Regions from separate parts of the Homo sapiens genome. Here all the other regions are linked to region 2. The links are contacts of gene promoters, found by promoter capture Hi-C in human tissues and cell types (Jung and others, 2019). All regions are on one chromosome and are shown on one strand. Each heading gives the region's core, a stretch centred on a gene start or on the middle of the fragment in contact. The rest is flanking DNA. Distances are from core to core; before and after follow the strand shown.

Region 1 (3,325 bases), core at 296-2,795, 450 kb before region 2:
CTGTAGTGCATGAGGTGCACTTTACAATTCCCAGTTGAAGTTATGGATACTGGCAAATGTAAGTATCACTAGGAAGCATGCAATTGAAGAGTTGTGCACTGGAACTTGGGAGACCGAGAAAAAAAGTGCCAGCTTTACCACTGTTTAGAATTTAGTGACATTGGGAAAGTCACGTGACTTCTCTAGACTGACTCTTCATCTGAACAACAAAGGAGGGGAAATGCTAAGTTACTCTTCTCCTTTTTTTTTTTTTAATAAATAATCTTTCTCTTCAAATAAAAAAATATTTCTATATCACTCAGGAGAAAAAAAAAGAGCTTCACTGGGGTCGAGGTACCTATAAAAGAAGATACTCTGACTCTCAAAAATCCAGTGATTCCAAGAGTAAATGTGCAATATTCAGAGTTTTATTGCCCAAGAAGAGCTTGGTCTCATTATTAGGGATTCATATCAGGTAGGCACTTAATAAATAATGGCTGGATAAATAAATATAATTGGTTTCTGAGTTTGTACAATGAGCAAAAATGGAAACACAGCTAACCTATTTCAGTTATAATGAAATCCCTAATTTGCTGCTTCTTTTGGCTCTATGCAAAAATTACATCATCATTTTATCCTAACCATGACTAGAAGAATAACTAAATTTGCTTTCTTGAGTCATCTCACTAATTATCTTCCATAATTCAGGGTAAGTACCCATATCTCCATTCCTCATCCAACCAGGCCACTTACACTATCCACTTGATAGATGACCCCATGAGTTGGAAAACAACCTAACAGATTAAGAATGTCATATATATATATAATATATATATATTATATATATATTATATATATATGAGATTAAGAATGCTATATATATGTGTGTGTGTGTATATGTATATGTGTGTGTATATATATATATATATATATTTGAGATAGAGTCTTGCTCTGTCACCCAGGCTGGAGTGCAGTGGCACTATCTCAGCTCACTGCAACCTCTGCCTCGCGTGTTCAAGGAATTCTTGTGTCAAAGCCTCTCAAATAGCTGGGATTATAGGCACCCACCACCACGCCAGCTCATTTTGTGTTTTTAGTAAAGATGGGGTTTTCACTGTGTTGTCCAGGCTGGTCTGGAACTCCTGACCTCAAGTGATCCATCTGCCTTGGCCTCCCAAAATGTTGGGATTACAGGCGTGAGCCACCACACCTGGCCAAGAGTGCGATATATAAACATAATACCACACATTTAGAAAAGCATTTCTTAAATCTGACTGCACAACAGAATCATTTAGGGCTTTTTAAATGCAAGTTATTGTAGATAAACCCACTCAACAGAGTGAAATCTGGAAATTCAAAAGGGAAGGGGCAGGTGATTGTCAGTTAAAACCAGAGTTCAAAACTACTTTTAGATACTGTTGCTAAAGCCGAACAGGAAATCCCACTTGGAATTAGGGGCTATGAGTGACATAATGGTGTGACTCCACTTGTCTTAGAAGGAAAACTGATTATATAATTTAGATTTAGGGACGAAGTTAATGTTTGTTTCTATAAAATTTTTATGGGAAATCAGTGGTGTAATTTGGTGATATGTAACAAAAGCCCTAATAAAGTTTATACTTTTTAAACCCATAGTTTCATTTCTTAAAATTTAGCCTATGGAAATGACCAGAGAGCATAAATGTTTAGTTTCAAGAAGCTCCGTGTTAATAGTGTACTTTATAAAACTAAAAGATAATGGAAAATTTAAATAATCAATACATGAGGATTGTTTATATACATTACAGTATAGTCATATAATAGAATACTACACAGTCATTAAAACAATGCCATAAAAATATTTCAAAATATATCAATAATCTGGCAATTCAACTTCTGGGTAGATACCTAAAATAACTAAAAGCAGGAATGCAGCTATTTGTACAATCATGGTAATATGTTCATAGCAGTATTATTCACAATAGCCAAAGGAAGAAGCAATTCAAGTGTCCACTGATGGATGAATGGATAAATAAAATGTGATATATATATATACACACACACATCTATATCTATCTATATATCTATACATATATATACACACACACAATGTAATAAGAAAATTCTGATACATGCTACAACATAGATGAAGCTTGAAGAGATTAAGCTTGAAGCTTGAAGAAACAAGCCAGTTACAAAAACAAAAAACAAAAAACAAATACCATATGGTTCTACATATAGGAGGCCCCTAGAAGAGTCAAATTTATAAAGCTAGAAAGCAGAATGGTGATTGCCATGGGATGGGAGAAGGAAGAATGTAGCTAGTGCATTATTGTTTAATGGATATGTCATTTCAGTTTGAATAGATACAGTTCTGCTGGTGATGGTTGCACAACAATGTAAATGTACTTAGTGCCAGTGAATTATACGCTTAAAATTGGTTAGAATGTGAAATTCTGTATTATGTATATTTTACCACTATATAATAAAAATAATAATATGTATCAAAATTTTTCTTTGTTTTAAAATTCAGTTAGAAAATATTGTTTTATACCTGTTGATAAGTAATGCATCTATCTATATCTCATATATACATATGCATACATATATGGCTAGAAGGATCTATTCCCAACTGATAACATTGGTTATTTTAAAGGGGTTATTTTTGGCTATTCTATATACTTTTCCTATTTTGCTAAGTGTCTACCACATATTACTTTTTCACTCAAAGGAAGAAATATATATTATATAGGCATAGTATATATTATACATTTCTTATATATAAATGTATAAAAATAAATATATATTTAACATAATATATATCAGAAATATATACATTATTTTAAAAACCAAGCAAACACACTCTAAAATATTGTGGTATTCCAATGTCCATGTGTATGTACATACAAAAAAAGGAAGAAGCATAGCAGAAAATTAAAAATGGTTTCAATGTATTTTAAAAGGTTACAGTTTTACACTAGGTGAGGCAGTTAAGAGAAAATTTTGTTCTCCATTTTATGTTTTTGTTTATTTTCCACATTAAAGAAAAAAAGTAACCTTATAAATGAGGATAAATAGTAGCTGAAATCTGGTGATGAGTTAAAATAATCTCAAATATTATGCACGAAATAAAAATCACACAATTTTAGTTGGTGCCACCGAGTTCAAAACATTGCTGCCAATATACTACTAATACTAATTTTTAGTCCTCAATGAACACATAAAGCACACACCACACACACACACACACACACACACACACACACACACACCCCTAACGAGTCCCCGATAGTTTTTGCCAGAGAGATGCACACATAAATATCTTACTTCTTTGAAATGTATCAGCACTTATTCATTTCACAGCCTT
Region 2 (3,005 bases), core at 137-2,636:
GGAAGGGGGAGGATGGGAGAGGGAGCTAGATGCTTTGTAAAGGTGCCTAGCCACACTTTCCCCTTCTTCACTTTAGGCTTTCTTAAAATGCACATGTGCAGGGAAAGGTAAGCCATTAAGTCATCAACACCTTAGTGAGAGTGAATTTTACAGGAAAGGCAAGAGATTTAGTAAAAGGGGAAGGAATGGAAAGAGAAAGGGGACTGGAAACACAGTTAAGTGAGTTTGGTACTAGCAAAAGCCCCAGAGAAGACCCTGAGTTCTCGCTAGTTGTTTTGTGTTGGGGGAGGGAAAGCAGTGGATCCCTTCTAAGGGAAGGGAAGCCAGAGAGATTTTTCAGTTCTCCTACGACTCCGAGGTTCCAAAGACTCTGCCCTGTCCAAGCACCCAGGCACAATTCCACTGATTAGCTCATCTCATATCACAACCTCCCCCATCCCCAACCCCTTGCCTCCAACTAAAGAATATTTATACTTTCATCTCCATTTCCCACACTACTTAGTCTTCTCTGGCCCACGGTTCCCTCGAAGAGATGTCTTCCTCCAAGCCGCTAGCTGGCTTCAGGAAACTCCTCAACCTCCAAAAACCCCATTCAGTGCAGGACTCTCCAAAAGGCCGTCCCAGGGACCAGAAAATCAAACCCCCTCCCTGGAACTTCCTTTAACTTTGTCCACGCCTTTGCTCCAGCACTTAGCATTTTCTACCCTAGGCCAGGTTTGACTCCCAGGTTCAACTGAGTTCCTTGAGGGCAACGTCCAATACACCCAGCACAGGGTCTGCCACACACAGGGTGCTAGAGAAATGCTTAGAGAAAGGGAACTTAAGTCCGGAGCCAACTATTTGAATTATGGTCTGGCCTCTAGTAAATAACTTCCGGGCGACCCTCCTTCTCTCTGGGCCTCAGCTGCCCCAACTGTAAAATGGGAGGACTTGGAGGACTGGGTCTAGGCCCTTTCCGCTGTGACAACTGTGATTCCGCGAAAGCTCTAAGCGGATGGGCGTGGCCCCGCCCCCTGGGCGCCCAGAAAAGTCCGGGCAGGGGGCGCGCAAGGCTCCAACCCCGCCTAGCCTGGGGTCGACGCTTTTGGAAAAACTCTGGGTCCCCCTCCCCCATGGCGTGCACCCCGTGATTGGGCCGCGGCCGGCACTTCCGCACAGCGGGCCAGGCCAGAGCAGGGCGCGCGCCCTGCGCTCTTGCCACCCCGGAGGCGCTCGCGCCGGGGGAGGGCTGGGGGTTCCCGAGGCGCCCGCGGGTGGAGGGTGAGGGGAAGGAAGGATTTGCAACAATACCTCAGGGAGGAGGCAGCCGGGGCAGCGGCGGTGGTGGTGGCGGCGGCGGCGGCGGCGGCGGCGGCTGGAGGCGGAGGCAGAGGCAGAGGAGGAGGTGCCCGGGCACTCCCCCTCCCATTGTCCCCAGCCCCGGACAGGCCCGGCCCCGCGCCCCACACTGGCCTCCTCGAGCGCGCCGCCCGCGCCCAGCGCCCCACGCCCCGCGCCCCGGGCCGTGCAGCCAGCCCTTACCTTGCAGCGCCCGGCTGTCTCCCGATCGCTAAAGCTACTTATCCCGGGAAAGCTCGCGCGGGACCCGGGAACGAACCCACAGACAAAAAGTGAAACTTCGGCAGGGCTGGAGCGGCTGCTGGTTGGTGCCTTTCCCCCTCCTTCCTCCCCACCGTCCCCACCCCCTCCCCTTGGTCTCCCGTGCGGTGCCCTGAGCGCTGGAGGCTGACGTCAGGGGCCTGAATTCCTGACTTTGCCTGCACGCATTTGTCCATGTAAGGTATGGGAAGGCGTGTGCCCGCGAAGCCGCCGCGCAGAGCTCGCCTGGCGGGGGAGGGGAAACCCGCAGCCGGCAGTGGCTTTGCCAAAAGGTGGGCGCACTGAGGGCATTGCATTTCCTGGGAGGAAGAGGAGGAGACGCGGGAATGCAGGGAGCTTGCAAAGGAGGAAGAGAAAGAGGGAGATGTGGAGACTTTGCCCCTGCTAGAGGAAGAGGAAGGAGACGTAGGAGGAAGCGGCCGCGTCAGGGGGCTCCTGGAAAATGGAAAAGCCTGCGTCTACTATTAAGGCGTCAAATTAGGGCACTGAGCTTGAGTGGAAGAGATCCAGCCATGAAATCCCCTTCCAAGATTTTCCTCGTGAGCCCCGCCCTGGATTCCCAGCAAGACTCAAAACTTACAAGGTGTCAGAGCTGGCAAAGACCAACTTCCAACCCGTCCGCTTGGCACGTGAGGAAACTGAAGCTCTCGGAAGAGAAATGACTTGTACAGGGTCGTCACTCAGCAGATCGAGGAGCGGGCCCAGGCGCTCTGCCTCCCACTTGGGTTCCCGCCTCCAGGAAGGGCCCTGGCTCCCTTTTAGCCCTGAGCCTTGAAGCAGGTTAGATGCCCGCGAGCTGTGCGGACCACCCAGTGATTTCTACTGCTCTTGGCCCAGAGCCAGTTCCTGGAAGGTCCTGGTTGACAGCGAGCCCTGAATATCAATGACAATCAGTTGCTTCAGGGCAACTTCCTCTGTCCTGTGCTCAAATAAATGAATCCCTGGAGTTTAACGTTTACTTCTGAGCCCCGCCCAGAAAGCTTGCTCTGTGCTTATAGCTTCAAAAAAGTCTGCGAACGAGATGAACTGGTTTGAATACAGACAAGCCTGTCATTGGAAGTTTTGAGTTGGATTTTTCTTTCCCCTCTGACATCTGTAAGGGTGAACGACGATGAGAACCACCACTTAACTGTGTTAGGGGATTATGACGCGCAGCAGCCATGGCCAGGAAAGCATTCCATACCCTGAGACTTCCTTTCCTTGCACTTCTCTCCTATTAATATCTAAAGTAATCCCTCACGTTAGCACATAATGAAAGCAGTCTCTCACCCGGCTATTGCATCTTCAGGTGAGTTAGATAGGACAGAGCGTAGTCCCCCCTTTACACCTCAGACAAAAACTTAAGAAACGTTACTCGCCCAACACAAAACAACTGACTGACCAAGCACCTGTCTTCCCCTCCTCCC
Region 3 (3,270 bases), core at 136-2,635, 280 kb before region 2:
GTTTTACTAGTATTCTCATTATAATTACCACAGCTACTCTAAGATTGGGCTTTTTCATTAGTCACAGGAATATAATCAGTTCCTCAGTTACACAGCTATGACTGGTCATACATTCTAACCAACCTGTCTGTTTGGTCAGTTATGATCCATCACCATGCTTAGCCATCCTGACTGCAATGAAACGACATGATCCAGTCCAAAAGGATATTATATCCAGGCAGTCTAGTTGGGCCACAACTGATTTATCTCCATTGCCTATTTAAATTCAGTGAGTGTGGCCAAGAAAAATAGCCTGTCCATCCTGTCCCTACCCACCTTATACAAATAAATATCTTCCAACTTAACCAGTTACAAATGTCCTTTTGGCCCCCAAGTGCTTCGGCAAAGCTATCACACTTACTGCAGAATGGAATTTAATTAAAGGGATACATAGTAAATACCAATTCATAGAAGCTAGTAATAGCATGCTCCCAATTTCTTCAACATGTCTAGCTTCTCAAAAAGCTATACCCATGAAGACCTTCATTATGTTCTCTAACATAAAAACACTTAAAGCAGTGAAATAACACAAACGACCAGTAATATGGCAATAGTTCAATAAATTCTGGGATGCTTACTTCAAGAACTATAATGCCATTGCTAAATATGATGGTGGGGAATTCTTATTCTGTAGTATTAAGTGAAAAAAATGCAAAATTATGTCTATCTTTAGTTACATATTATGAAAACTATAAACATATATTGGCAAAGACTAAAAGAGTACAGAGAAAATGGAGTTGATGTGTTAGAGAGACAGAATTGTAGGTTTGTTTTTTAAACAAATTTGCTTTCTTGTTATAAAGTCATTTGTGTACATATTTAAGTGTGTGGAATATCTTTAAACTTACCTGAAGTCCACAAAGAACAAAAATATCCAAGAAGGATTTATGTGATTGAAACATATTAGCAAACATCAAGTGCATATCAAATTATCCTAATAGCAGGAACTTTTCCTGTTGAAGGATACACAAGGCATTACTTAGCATATCATTCAAATGCACGTACTTTGGAACGGAAGCTCTAGTATCCTCCTAGATCCATTTAGGCCTGAATCCTACAGAAAAAGCACTGTACCTAAGTCTCATTTATCAGCAGCATCAAGTGTTATTTAGGAAAGTTGCTCACATAAAAGATCATCATCTTAATTTCTAATTATTACCATGGTAAGCAGCTGTATAAATGGCTAAATAAGGTATGGTTCTTAATTCCAAGGAATTTACATCTTTAACTCACACTGTGGCTCTAGGCTCCAGGCTGAAAGGTTGGCAGAGTCTTTACTCTTTTCCTCTCTGATCCCCTGGATCATCCCTACTGCACCTCTGAAAACTGTTGCTCTGTGCACCTCATGTCCTACCCCCCATCGAAGTCGCCTGTCTCCATTAAAGCTGGCCGTGCCACCCCACACCCCAACCCCACTCTGCCTGCTCACCATCCCACTACCCATCTTCACCCACAGACAATCTTACCTACACAAACTTTAAAGCCCATCTACTTTTGCCCTTGTAGGCCTTAAAATATATATTCTTTTTCAAAATTCATACTGAAATTCAAGTCTGGGCCTACCACTATACACCTAATTATTTTCTAATTGGTTTTCTATTTTTAAAATCTCACCAAAAGCCCTTTTTGGCCTTTTGCATAGAAATCCCAGGCCTTACATTTTTGCTTTTGTTTTCTCCCAAGGCAATTAACAGTACTGAACAGATATCGGGTCCTAAGTAAATATATGCTTACACAAACATTATTTATACATAGAAAATGTTGAAAATAAACAGGAGTTGTTCACGAAATGCAAACATGTTTCTCAAGTAATATCTGCACTGTCCATTGAGATGATTAGAACACAGAATCTAGGAAATGTTAAATCTGGGAATCAAAGATCTGATTCTGATGTTGACACCCTAAGCACTAGTGGCTCCGTTTCTTTTAGCCTCAGTTTCTTCGTGTAAAATAAAATTTACTAAAACTGATAACGTCAATTATATATCAGCCATAACCTTAAGATGATCCACCTTATCTCCCTTGGGTCAGAAGTCAGGAGCCCTGTTATTCTGGTATTGGTATCACAACACTATAGTCAGTGGTACTAGGTGACATTACCTCTAGATATTTCATTTTAGTAATCTACACAATGGAAGAGTAACTCTTGCCATTTACATATCCACGAGTTCCAAGGATCAAATAAAGTAATGTGTGTGCTATGAATGTAAAACACCATATTATAATGAAAAATTGCATTGGCTCCTGTTATTGTTAATATTAGGTTTGGGACAGAGGAAGAATGGAAGTTCAAATGGTGGGAATGTTGCTTTAGAAGCGATCTATGGCAAGGAAACAGGTCAGGAAATGCAGCTGGAGAAAGCCATATGCCTTTTGTCTCTTTAGGACAGCAGGAAAGCTGTAGAGAAAAGGAAGACTGAGTGAGATGTGCAAGTGCCTCAAGCTTCAAGGAAAGGGACAAAATGGAAGCAACATTACAAACACAACATCCTCAGATTAATTCAGGTTTATGCACTTATTTCCTGTAACTGATGTAATAAACAAACCTTAGTCTGATTCAGAAAGTGACATCACAGAGATTATTTCCAATATCCCCAAAAATGTGGGGTATTTCCATGGTTTATAAATTTCTAAAGGTAAAATCAAACTAAATAAAGCCTGCATTAAGAAAAAAGAAAGAAAAAGAAACATATTCAGATATTATTTATCCTGAAAAGAAAACAGGTATTAATTTATATTTCCTTATTTACTTTCCCCCTCCCCCCAACAGAGAAACAAATTATATAACACCTTGTGTTTATATAAACGTGTGTCTCCAAGTAGGAGGTAGTACTGTACAAATACTATTTAATCAAACCTCACCTTATCACTAAATGTGGGCAATGGATCATTATTAAAAAGTCATGTTAAATTGGAAGAAAAAACAGCTATAAAATAATAGGAATATTTAGTGGTAAAAAGTAAACCCTTGTGAGTTCAATGAGGTCAAAAAACAGAACTCAAAGGAGACAATTAAGACTCCATTCTTTGATTCCCTACAACATTTAATCTACCCGGAACATCCTATTATTATCAATATTTTCCTTCCCTCAAAGTCCACAGCAAAGCCTTCCTCCTTATATACTAGTGTAGCATTCAGACATTCTTCCCAGTAAGATTAAATTATCATTTTTCTGAGTTTTTATATTTTACTTCTACCCTACCTGTAGTGTTTAACAAATTATATATTTT
Region 4 (3,324 bases), core at 458-2,957, 300 kb before region 2:
CCAGTGCCAACATGGACAACATAGCAAGATCCCATCTCTACAAAAAATAGAAAATTAGCCAGGTGTGGTGGGGCACACCAATAGTCCCAGCTACTCGAGAAGCTGTGACAGGAGGATTGTTTAAGATCAGGAGTTTGAGCGTGCAGTAAGCTATGACTGCACTAGTGCACTCAAGCCTGGGTGACAGCAAAATCCTGTCTCTAAAATAAACAAATAAAAAAATTTTTTTTTAAATGCCAAGTGAATGAATGAGCCATGAACAAAAATAGATTTACCGTTTTACAACCACATTTGACAATTACAGTTCTCTTTGTTCCCTAAGTAAAAAGACCCTCTGCAAAATTCTGAAAAAAACCAATATTCTCTTTATAGGGTAAGTACTGAGAGCTGGTTTTACCATATCTAGAATAGGTTACAGTCATTTTTTGCCCAAAAATATTCACCAACATTGCCCTTCTGATTCTGTAATCAGTATATTATGATAGAGTTCATTTTAAAATCAAGTACCCATACCTACTGTTTTCAATCACAGTCTCTGTCTCGCAGAGAGCAAGTGACTGATAAAATAGCACTGACTCAAATGTCACACATGATATCAATTACTTTGCCAATCAAGGAAATTAAGGATATGACTACACTTCTTCTGAGTGTGTTTTATTCACTCCAAACATTAATTAAACCCTATTATCAGGGATGTGTAAAACCTCGGCTTCAGCTTAAAAATAAATCACTTTCTCCTGGGTGTGCGCATATTCTATTTACATGAACCTTTTAATAATCTTTTTGGGAATAGAAGGCAGTGAATCTGGTCAGTACCTTCTCTTTTTTTAATCCTTGTTGGTGCTTTTTATGTGAGCACTTTGCTAGTCCCCAAATATTACTATTAATAATAGCCTTAAGACTTCATCAGGCTCTCAGCTAAAAATTTTTTCTCTGTAAACTGTCCAGAAACCATGCAACTTGACAAAATAGCACCTGTGTTATCTATTAAACTATCTCCCACTCTAATTGGCCCTAGAGCTATGATTCTATTCTAGCTCAGATCTTGCAAAGACAAACATAAAAGCACATATTAACAATGTATGTCATCTCACTTGTATAAAGGATGCTTCTCCAAATGCTCACTACACTAAGTTGGCTTTCGAATAACATTGTGAACACCTTCTAAAACTTTAGATAAGCAGGTAACTTGATGTGGTTTATTCTAGTCATGGCTTTGTGTCCCCACCCAAATCACATCTTGAATTATACTCCAATAATTCCCACGTGTTGTGGGAGGGATGCCGTGGGAGATCATGTGAATCATGGAGATGGTCCCCCCATACTGTTCTCATGGTAGTGAATAAGTTTCATGAGATCTGATGGGTTTATCAGGGGTTCCCGCTTTTGCTTCCTCCTCATTTTCTCTTGCTTCCGCCATGTAAGATGTGCCTTTCACCTCCCACCATGATTCTGAAGCCTCCCCCAGCCATGTGGAATTGTAAGTCCAATTAACCCTCTTCTTCTTCCCAGTCTCGGGTATGTCTTTATCAGCAGCGTGAAAATGAACTAATACATAGCTCATCCTTGCATAGAATGCATAAAACTGGAGTTGTTTTCCAATAATACAAATTACAATTTTACATCTGAATTCTTCCCAAGCAGGAAAGATTTAGCATTCAGTTTATCTCAAATCGTAAATTTAAAGTCTACAACAGAAAAATCCTTAAAAATATTTAAATCCTAAAACCTATAGAAATGAGATATGTTGGTTTTCCATGGATGAAAGTTACTGAGGAATATCATAGACCACACTTCTCAAATACCATCAACTGAGAAAGCCAGTAGTTTCAGGCTTATATTGTTAGCTCTTGCTTACCTACAGCATTGCACGGCAGTTACAAGCATAGGCTGTGATGCCACACTGCCTAAGCTGGTGTCCTGCCTGTCACCTGCTAGCTGCCTAACCTTGGACAAGTTACATAATCTTTCCATACCTCACTTCCTCATATGTAAAGTGGGAATAGTAACTGTACCTGCCTTGCAGAAATTTTATGACAGCCAAATTAAATAAATGCAAAATATGTCACACAGTGCCTAGGATATGCTAAGTATTCAAAAACATTACACCTTATTCAAGCACCCTGCCTTCAATCATACTACATAAGATAGACATATATGGAATGAGAAGAATGTAATAGGATAAAAAGAGTATGGCATTTTAGGTTAAAATGTGAGTTAGAATCTCCACAGTTCTACATGCTATATTTGTGGCCCAGAGCTGTTTAAACGAAGTCCCATCTCCTTATCTGTAGAATGCTAAGAAGCCTAACAGAAGTACCCACAAAATTAACAGGAACTCAGAGGAAATCAAAATAACTTTCAGCTAAAGAATCAGGGGAGACTTAATAGGGAAGGTACTATTTTGATAAATACTATAGAATAGATTTGTGGAAGTAGAAATATTTAAAATGTATTCTGGACTGAGAGAACCATTCAAGCAAAGACACAGAGGAAGGAAAGCATGGTGTGTTTTCAGAGAATTAGCACATGTTCTAACCTGGCCAGCAAAGAGATTGTAAAGGGAAGCAACTGGCGCTGAGGTGAGACAAGCAGATCCCGTCGGAAGGAGATCAGCATTTCCTGGCCGGATTGGGACTTATTCCCCCAGGCATTGTGAACACATTCAAGATTGTTATTGTCCATGGATAGGATCCGGTCGGTATCATACAAGGAGCTGAGCACAAGGTGAAGAGTGTTTAGAAACCCCAGGTCTACACTCCAGCCTGGGTGATCGGAGTGAGACCCTGTCTCAAACAAACAAAAAAGCCCAGTCCTACAGATAAAGGCGTCCTAGAGATAAAGGCTTCCAGAGTCCATTAAGCATCTAGCCTGTGAAAAGCCAAGGAATCAAGGGGGCACGATGCCAGGGTTGGCAAAGATGGGGAAGTAGATTCATACCTGTATGAATCCGGAACCTAAGGAAGGAAGAAAGAAAGAGTCAAAGAGAAATGACGTGACCAGGAAGTATCATAAACATTCAAGAGGAAGAGCAAGAGATAAAACCAAAGAACCCGAGAGAGGTTGGTCCACCTAAGAAGGCATCTCAAACAACCAGCTACAATCTGCTTTCTTCACACCAGTAAGAACCATGGTCATGTATGGCCATGTGGGCTGACAACTTAAGAGGTGAATCTAAAGCTTAAAATAAAGAAAGAAACAGCATCAGGGGCAAAATAGTACGAGAAAGAGATATAAAAGATTTAAAGAGGGAATACAATATGACAAAACAGAGATTCTTCACAGGATACAGAATAACTCCATCGAAACAAGACAAGGAGAAAC
Region 5 (2,988 bases), core at 310-2,809, 370 kb before region 2:
TCCCTCTCTGGGCAAAAGCTTTCCATCTGTAGAATAAGAGTTTGGCTAAGTGAGCTGGAAGGCCCACTAAAGCTCTGATATTCTATGATCACATTTTGTCTGCAATTCACTCCAGGATCACCTCTGAACTTTTCACATCTGTTCTTCTAAAACTACTCCCTGACAAACACATTTAAAATGTTTAGAAATTTTGGTTTCAAACACTAATGTAATTTAATTGCATAAATCCATGCAGCGTCATGGAGGATTTTTTTATAAAGTAGCTGTAAGCTAAAGTCATTACTCCAAAATCACTGCAGCCAGTAACACTGTTGCTATCCCCCTGTAAATTTCTCTTTCTAACAATGAAAGCCCTTGGGCATCAAAAGGGCTACTTAGGTACTGCTAAGTAAGTTTGAGTTTTTCAGCAGTAATCCCATTTACACTTTACATACCCCATTAGACAAACTTATTCTTCAAATAATATTCACTTTCCACGTTCCTTGACTTTCTCACTCTTGTTATTCTTGCACCTTGAATCCCATGCCCTTCCCGTAACACTTTAAGCCAAGTTAGCTCAAATACTGCCTGCTCTACGCAGTCCTCTCTGACACTGAAAGGTATAAGGTACAATGTTGGTATTCCTGTATTTTATCTCCCAATAATTTTGACACGTGGTGATTTACGTGACAATTTAAGTAGCACATTGAAGCCCTTCTCCTGTGTCCCTTTGGGTTACTTACGGGCTTATCTCTTCTGTAAGATTAAATATCACTCTAAAGGAAAGACCTGTTGATACTAACCTTTAAATCTCCAATGACTGATCCAGAGGAGGATCTCATCAAATGTTAGGTGAATGAATCAATGAATCAATGAATATGTGGAATTAAGCCAAATTTCCAAAATCAATATAGGGATTAGTAAGTGAACATAACTAAAGTCAGAAAATTTGGGAGCGGAAAATACTCCCTAGAATAAAAGGAAGAAAATGCTTTAGCAAAACCTATTTTCAAGAGCTCACATTTTTCAGACTTGTTTTGAGAATGGAGCTCCTTGGAACCTCTTACCATATAAACATTCCACATATATATCATTTTTCCTAGACCATGAGTCAAAGCAGCCTTCCAAAGATGATAGAGACATGGATTCAAAAAAGCTTACAACACATGTTTGACTAATGAGAAATCACAGACCTACTAGCCTATTTTAAGTAGTCAGGTGATTCTATAGGTTTTGAAATTTGCTTTGAACAAAAATAGAAACATCAATGTTGGGCATTAACGGTCTACATTTCTAGGACTTTTCAAGTACCTTTCAATTATAACACAACACCGTCTACTATAGACATCATCTTCTCTTGGCACATACTTTTAATATTTTAAGTGTGTGATTATTGTTCTCACAGCCTATAATTATGTTAACCAATAAATATTAACACATCTAATTCAGTTCCACCAGAGGGAAGATAATTCAAAAGGATGAGATATATCTCCCAATTAACTCTTGCTTTGTTAAATCATAGTAATAGAAAAAAATTAGAATGGATCATCCTTTAATTTCTGAATGGAACAGGCACATCGAAAGTGTATTTTACCATAATTATGAACTTATTCTACTTAATGGCTATTACAATTAATTTTTTTTGACCTTCTGAATGTTTTTCTTTTTATGGGAAAGCAACATTCAAGGGACAGTGTCACTCAGATGACTGATGCCAGCTTTCATCGATGGTAAAATCATTACAAAAACAAAGACAAAACCTGACACCCTCAATCTGGTGTTTAGAACTTAAAATCAAGCACAAGCCAAAATTCAAAGTCCAGTTGTGCTCACGCAGTGCTCAAACATATGGCCAAGGAGAAACCATTAATCTTCTTGGTGAGTCTTAGTTTCATCATCCCTGAAAGGAGCACATCACGCACATCTCAGAACTGAGATATCTATATCTCACTCAAGTGAGAATATATGTGAAAGTGCTTCACAATCAGTACTGTCCAAATATCAGTGATGATGAATTTGTGTGCTCAGAAAGATTCCTCAAACAAAACGTAGCTGCAGAATAAACCTATTAAAATGCAATGGTTTATGAGAGGCATGTATAGACACAACCTTCAAGAATAAAGGTTGTATTAAACAATAGACCTCAAAGCATGATCTCCTCAGTGTCTATTAGGTTATAAGGATTTAGGGGAGGAAAAAAAAGATTTAAATGAAAGCTCCGTTTAAAAAAAAAGCTGGGGGGCGGGGAGGGGCAGGGCACGGTGGCTCATGCCTGTAACCCCAGCACTTTGGAAGGCCGAAGTGGGTCAGTCACGAGGTCAGGAGATTGAGACCATCCTTGCCAACATAGTGAAACCCCATCTCTACTAAAAATACAAAAAATTAGCTGGGCATGGTGGCACACACCTGTAAGTTTGGCTAAATGACCTGGAAGGCCCACTAAAGCTCTGATACTCTATGCTCACATTTTATCTGCAATTCACTACAGGAATATGTCTGAACTTTTCTCATCTGTTATTCTAAAACTACTCCCTGACAAACACTTTTAAAATGTTTAGAAATTTTAGTTTCAAATATTAAGGTAGTTCAATTGCATAAATCCATGCAGTGTCATGGAGGATTTTTTATAAAGTAGATGTAAGCTAAAGTCATTACCCCAAATTTACTGCAGCCAGAAACACTGTTGCTATCCTCCCTAAATTTGGGAGGCTGAGGCAGGAGAATGGCTTGAACCCAGGAGGCGGAGGTTGCAGTGAGCCGAGATCCCACCACTGCACTCCAGCCTGGGTGACAGAGTGAAAACCCATTACAAAAAAAAAAAAGGAAAGGGAGCACAAAAAAGCATTTGGGCATGATACTGCTGAGTCCAGTGGCAAAGTCAGTGGCCTTCCTGTCTTCAGATATGAGATGAGATTTGGGGCATTTGCTTGGGTGGAATCAAAAAAAATTGCTGAACATCAAGCAATGGTCAGAAAGTATGAAGAGTGGCTTGCTGGAGAACATTTTTCT
Region 6 (2,924 bases), core at 331-2,830, 330 kb before region 2:
ACATAAAGCACTTCTTCAGCTTAAATGGTGGCAGCTTTCGGCAGTTACCGATGATCACAGTCTGAGAACCACTTCTAATGTCACATCTGATCCCAGCCCCGAGTTACTTTGCAATTACCACTCGCTGGAACCCAAGAGTTCTATATAATTGATAAGTATGATGTGCACCCTTGAACTTACCCAGAAGAGAAAATCCTAAGGATATTTGATGTTGCTTTTGCTAGAAAAATGTTGCTGACCAAAAGGATCCACATTAACCAACTACAGCCTTAAAATGTCAGCCTTACTCACTTGAATGCAATGTTTGAAGATAGAGAACATAGCAATAAAAAGACATGGCTGTATGTCCTCCAAAATAACAAGGAAATGTTGCCTTCTCAAATAGTATTCCTAAAAAAAAAATGGCTTTGGGATCTGAAACAAAATTAGTAGGCAAAAGTATTTTGAGGGCTTCAGAGGGTAAGCCAGCAGAACTCTGGGAAGCTTGAGTTGGGTATGTTGCATTAAAGTACCTTAGATCTTCATAAGTTGTAAAGCTCTCAATAGGCTCTGGATAAATGTTTATCCAGCACAGAAACACTCATGAAATTCATGAGCTCCCTAGGATGGCTTATAAACATGACTTTAACTTCAGCTCTTACCTAACATGACTTTAACTTCAGCTCTTACCTGTACTTTGAAAGCCTCTTCATCAAGAGGTGGTGGAGGAGGAAAGTTTCCAGAGATAGATGGAAGGGCACTGGAATCATCTAGAGGTGGAGGTGGGGGTGGAAGAAAATCACCTACAGAAAAGAAGTAAACAACATGAAGTTAATAAGGATGCAACGTTATAGTACTCGTGATATATTTGCTGGCATTTTACTTTTTTATAATTGGCTTTGACACATAATTTTGTGTTGTATAGCAATTATTCCCCATCTTAGTTTAATTAGTAGCCTTAATTAGTAGTCTTAACTTTCAGAAGAAAGAGTATCGGATTTGATATTTAGAAATGGTATAAAAGCTAGTCTAGAGGGGTCAATATATTAAGCAAAGCGAAGAATGAGCTTGGGTGGGAGATAGAGTTACTGAATTTTATACACCTTGGTGCTTGCCCTCAATACATTTTCAATCAAATAGAGGAGGAAGAAAAATTGTACAAAACTAAAGATAACACAAGGTGTAATTTATAAAGATGCATGAATAACCTCTGGAAATTAAGATAAAGTGGAGGATCATGGAAGTCTCAGTGGATCATATAATTTTCCTGAAACATGATGTAGAAGGTACGTCCATCCTTGGTAGAGAGACAGGAGAATGTAGGCATGGCGATCAGAAAGTTCAGAGCATAGAGAATAAAAAGCAAGTCATGACATAGGAAAAACATGGGACACAGGAATGTAAAATAATGCCAGTGAGTTATAAAGATTAGATATGCGATAAAATTAAGGTTTTTACATGTTGCACATCAAAAAAAGGGTTTGAATTTTATCATGCATGCAGCAGAGATCCACCAAGGATTTCTGAGAAAGAAACACTTGGTTACAATACGATTTACTAAAGACTAATGTAAAAGTCCATGCAGGACAGATTAGGAGAAATGAATAAGAAACACCCAATTTAGAAATCTATACATAATCCAGGCAAGAAGTAATGAGACTTTGGGATACCGAGAAAAACCTAGCATCTCTTACCAACAAGAGAAGCACACTGCTGTCAGAGTTATTGAGGGAGTGAACCTGATCTCTGTGATCTAAGTTATACACATATATCCAAGAGCTTTATGGTTCCTGGAATGAAACCTTTTTAAATAGTCTGCAAAAAACTGTATTGGGGAAACAGAAACTTCTACCTTTTAACCTGTTCTTTATTTGTTATTTTCCTATTAAAAATAATGTTTTTGATGTGTTGGAGAAGAGATCTTTTCTATTTATGGAGGAGTAGCCTTTCCTTGCATTTTAGTTGCTCAACACTTTGTGGGTTAGGGCAGCAGTCTCCATCATTAAGTGAGTTGCTTTTGGATATTATCAAAACATCACAGTTTAGGCCCTGAGAAATAGAAGTATAAGAATGGAAGAGTGAGCACATTAGAATGACTGTGAGTAGGTTTTGTTGTTCTGATACACCTTTGAAATGGTTCAGTTTGCCTCTATTTGCCTTATAAATAACAGTCTTAGAATTCAAAGTGTAGCTAAGCCAAGAACTGTCAGGTCTAGCCCCAAGCCAAATTCAGACTGCTAAGCAATCAAAAGCACTATCTCTCGAGTACTCCGCTTACTAGACTCGCACCATGCCAGGCAGTTTGCTAAGATTTTCATACACTGCCACCGAATCATACAACAACCCTTAAAGCTGATGGTTCTCAAACTTTAGAGTTCATCAATATCTCTGGAATGTCTTTTTAAAATACAGATTTTTGGGTCCTGGATCCAGAGATTCTGATTCAGTAGGTCTGGGGAGAACTCCAACCATCTTCATTTCTAATAAATCCCTGTGTGATCGATGCCTTTGGGTCTGACAGCACACTTTAATAACCACTGCATGTTGTTACTACTTTAGACCCACAGGATAAGAAATGTTCAATAACTTACAACATAAAGAAAATTTCTACTCCTCTTATTCTCTGGGTGCACAAATCTGTGGAAATAATTTGTACATATCCTTATGACAATTATAAATCCCATAAATCTGTATGCATTCCATTCAGTAGTTTTAAACATTGGTTAAATACCAGAATCACCAAAGAAACACATTCGAAAATGCTGATGTCCAAATTCCATCTCACAGCAATTCAATCAGAATCTTGGGGATAGAAGACAGGGAGTGAGGGGGTCAGGCACCAGGACACCTATAAAACCTAAGGGATTCGAACCTGCAGCCAGGATTGAGAAACTTTCATTTGGCCACAGACTGCATGAAAAAATATTTCATATCTGTTAATTAAA

Evidence for each region. Contacts are between HindIII fragments. The study calls those that stand out against the background at their distance.
Region 1: a contact is called between a fragment that was not itself captured here and the fragment with the promoter of LPP in region 2, in 2 of the 25 tissues and cell types used here (dorsolateral prefrontal cortex and liver).
Region 3: a contact is called between a fragment that was not itself captured here and the fragment with the promoter of LPP in region 2, in 1 of the 25 tissues and cell types used here (bladder).
Region 4: a contact is called between a fragment that was not itself captured here and the fragment with the promoter of LPP in region 2, in 2 of the 25 tissues and cell types used here (small bowel and spleen).
Region 5: a fragment that was not itself captured here is called in contact with the fragment with the promoter of LPP in region 2 in 1 of the 25 tissues and cell types used here (dorsolateral prefrontal cortex).
Region 6: a fragment that was not itself captured here is called in contact with the fragment with the promoter of LPP in region 2 in 2 of the 25 tissues and cell types used here (H1 embryonic stem cells and liver).

Annotation. Positions count from the first base shown.
Region 1 is chr3:188,599,657-188,602,981 of GRCh38, reverse strand. All of the region lies in intron 6 of LPP (LIM domain containing preferred translocation partner in lipoma), which reads right to left. Among named protein-coding and RNA genes, the nearest start is that of LPP-AS1, 33 kb to the right of the region's middle. The HindIII fragment of the contact is 4,829 bases long and covers 1-3,325 here.
Region 2 is chr3:188,152,538-188,155,542 of GRCh38, reverse strand. LPP (LIM domain containing preferred translocation partner in lipoma) reads right to left here and starts at 1,386. Exons shown (of 12, transcript NM_001375462.1): 1 at 1,291-1,386. It overlaps LPP-AS2 (LPP antisense RNA 2), which reads left to right and starts at 1,455. Exons shown (of 1, transcript NR_036497.1): 1 at 1,455-3,005. RefSeq lists enhancers at 1-151, 1,951-2,851 and a silencer at 1,179-1,518. The HindIII fragment of the contact is 14,765 bases long and covers 1-3,005 here.
Region 3 is chr3:188,435,046-188,438,315 of GRCh38, reverse strand. All of the region lies in intron 4 of LPP (LIM domain containing preferred translocation partner in lipoma), which reads right to left. Among named protein-coding and RNA genes, the nearest start is that of LPP-AS1, 130 kb to the left of the region's middle. The HindIII fragment of the contact is 8,829 bases long and covers 1-3,270 here.
Region 4 is chr3:188,452,790-188,456,113 of GRCh38, reverse strand. The region is part of intron 4 of LPP (LIM domain containing preferred translocation partner in lipoma); the gene reads right to left. Among named protein-coding and RNA genes, the nearest start is that of LPP-AS1, 110 kb to the left of the region's middle. The HindIII fragment of the contact is 9,022 bases long and covers 1-3,324 here.
Region 5 is chr3:188,527,568-188,530,555 of GRCh38, reverse strand. The region is part of intron 6 of LPP (LIM domain containing preferred translocation partner in lipoma); the gene reads right to left. Among named protein-coding and RNA genes, the nearest start is that of LPP-AS1, 40 kb to the left of the region's middle. The HindIII fragment of the contact is 4,035 bases long and covers 1-2,988 here.
Region 6 is chr3:188,482,450-188,485,373 of GRCh38, reverse strand. It overlaps LPP (LIM domain containing preferred translocation partner in lipoma), which reads right to left. Exons shown (of 12, transcript NM_001375462.1): 5 at 670-782. Among named protein-coding and RNA genes, the nearest start is that of LPP-AS1, 85 kb to the left of the region's middle. The HindIII fragment of the contact is 5,601 bases long and covers 1-2,924 here.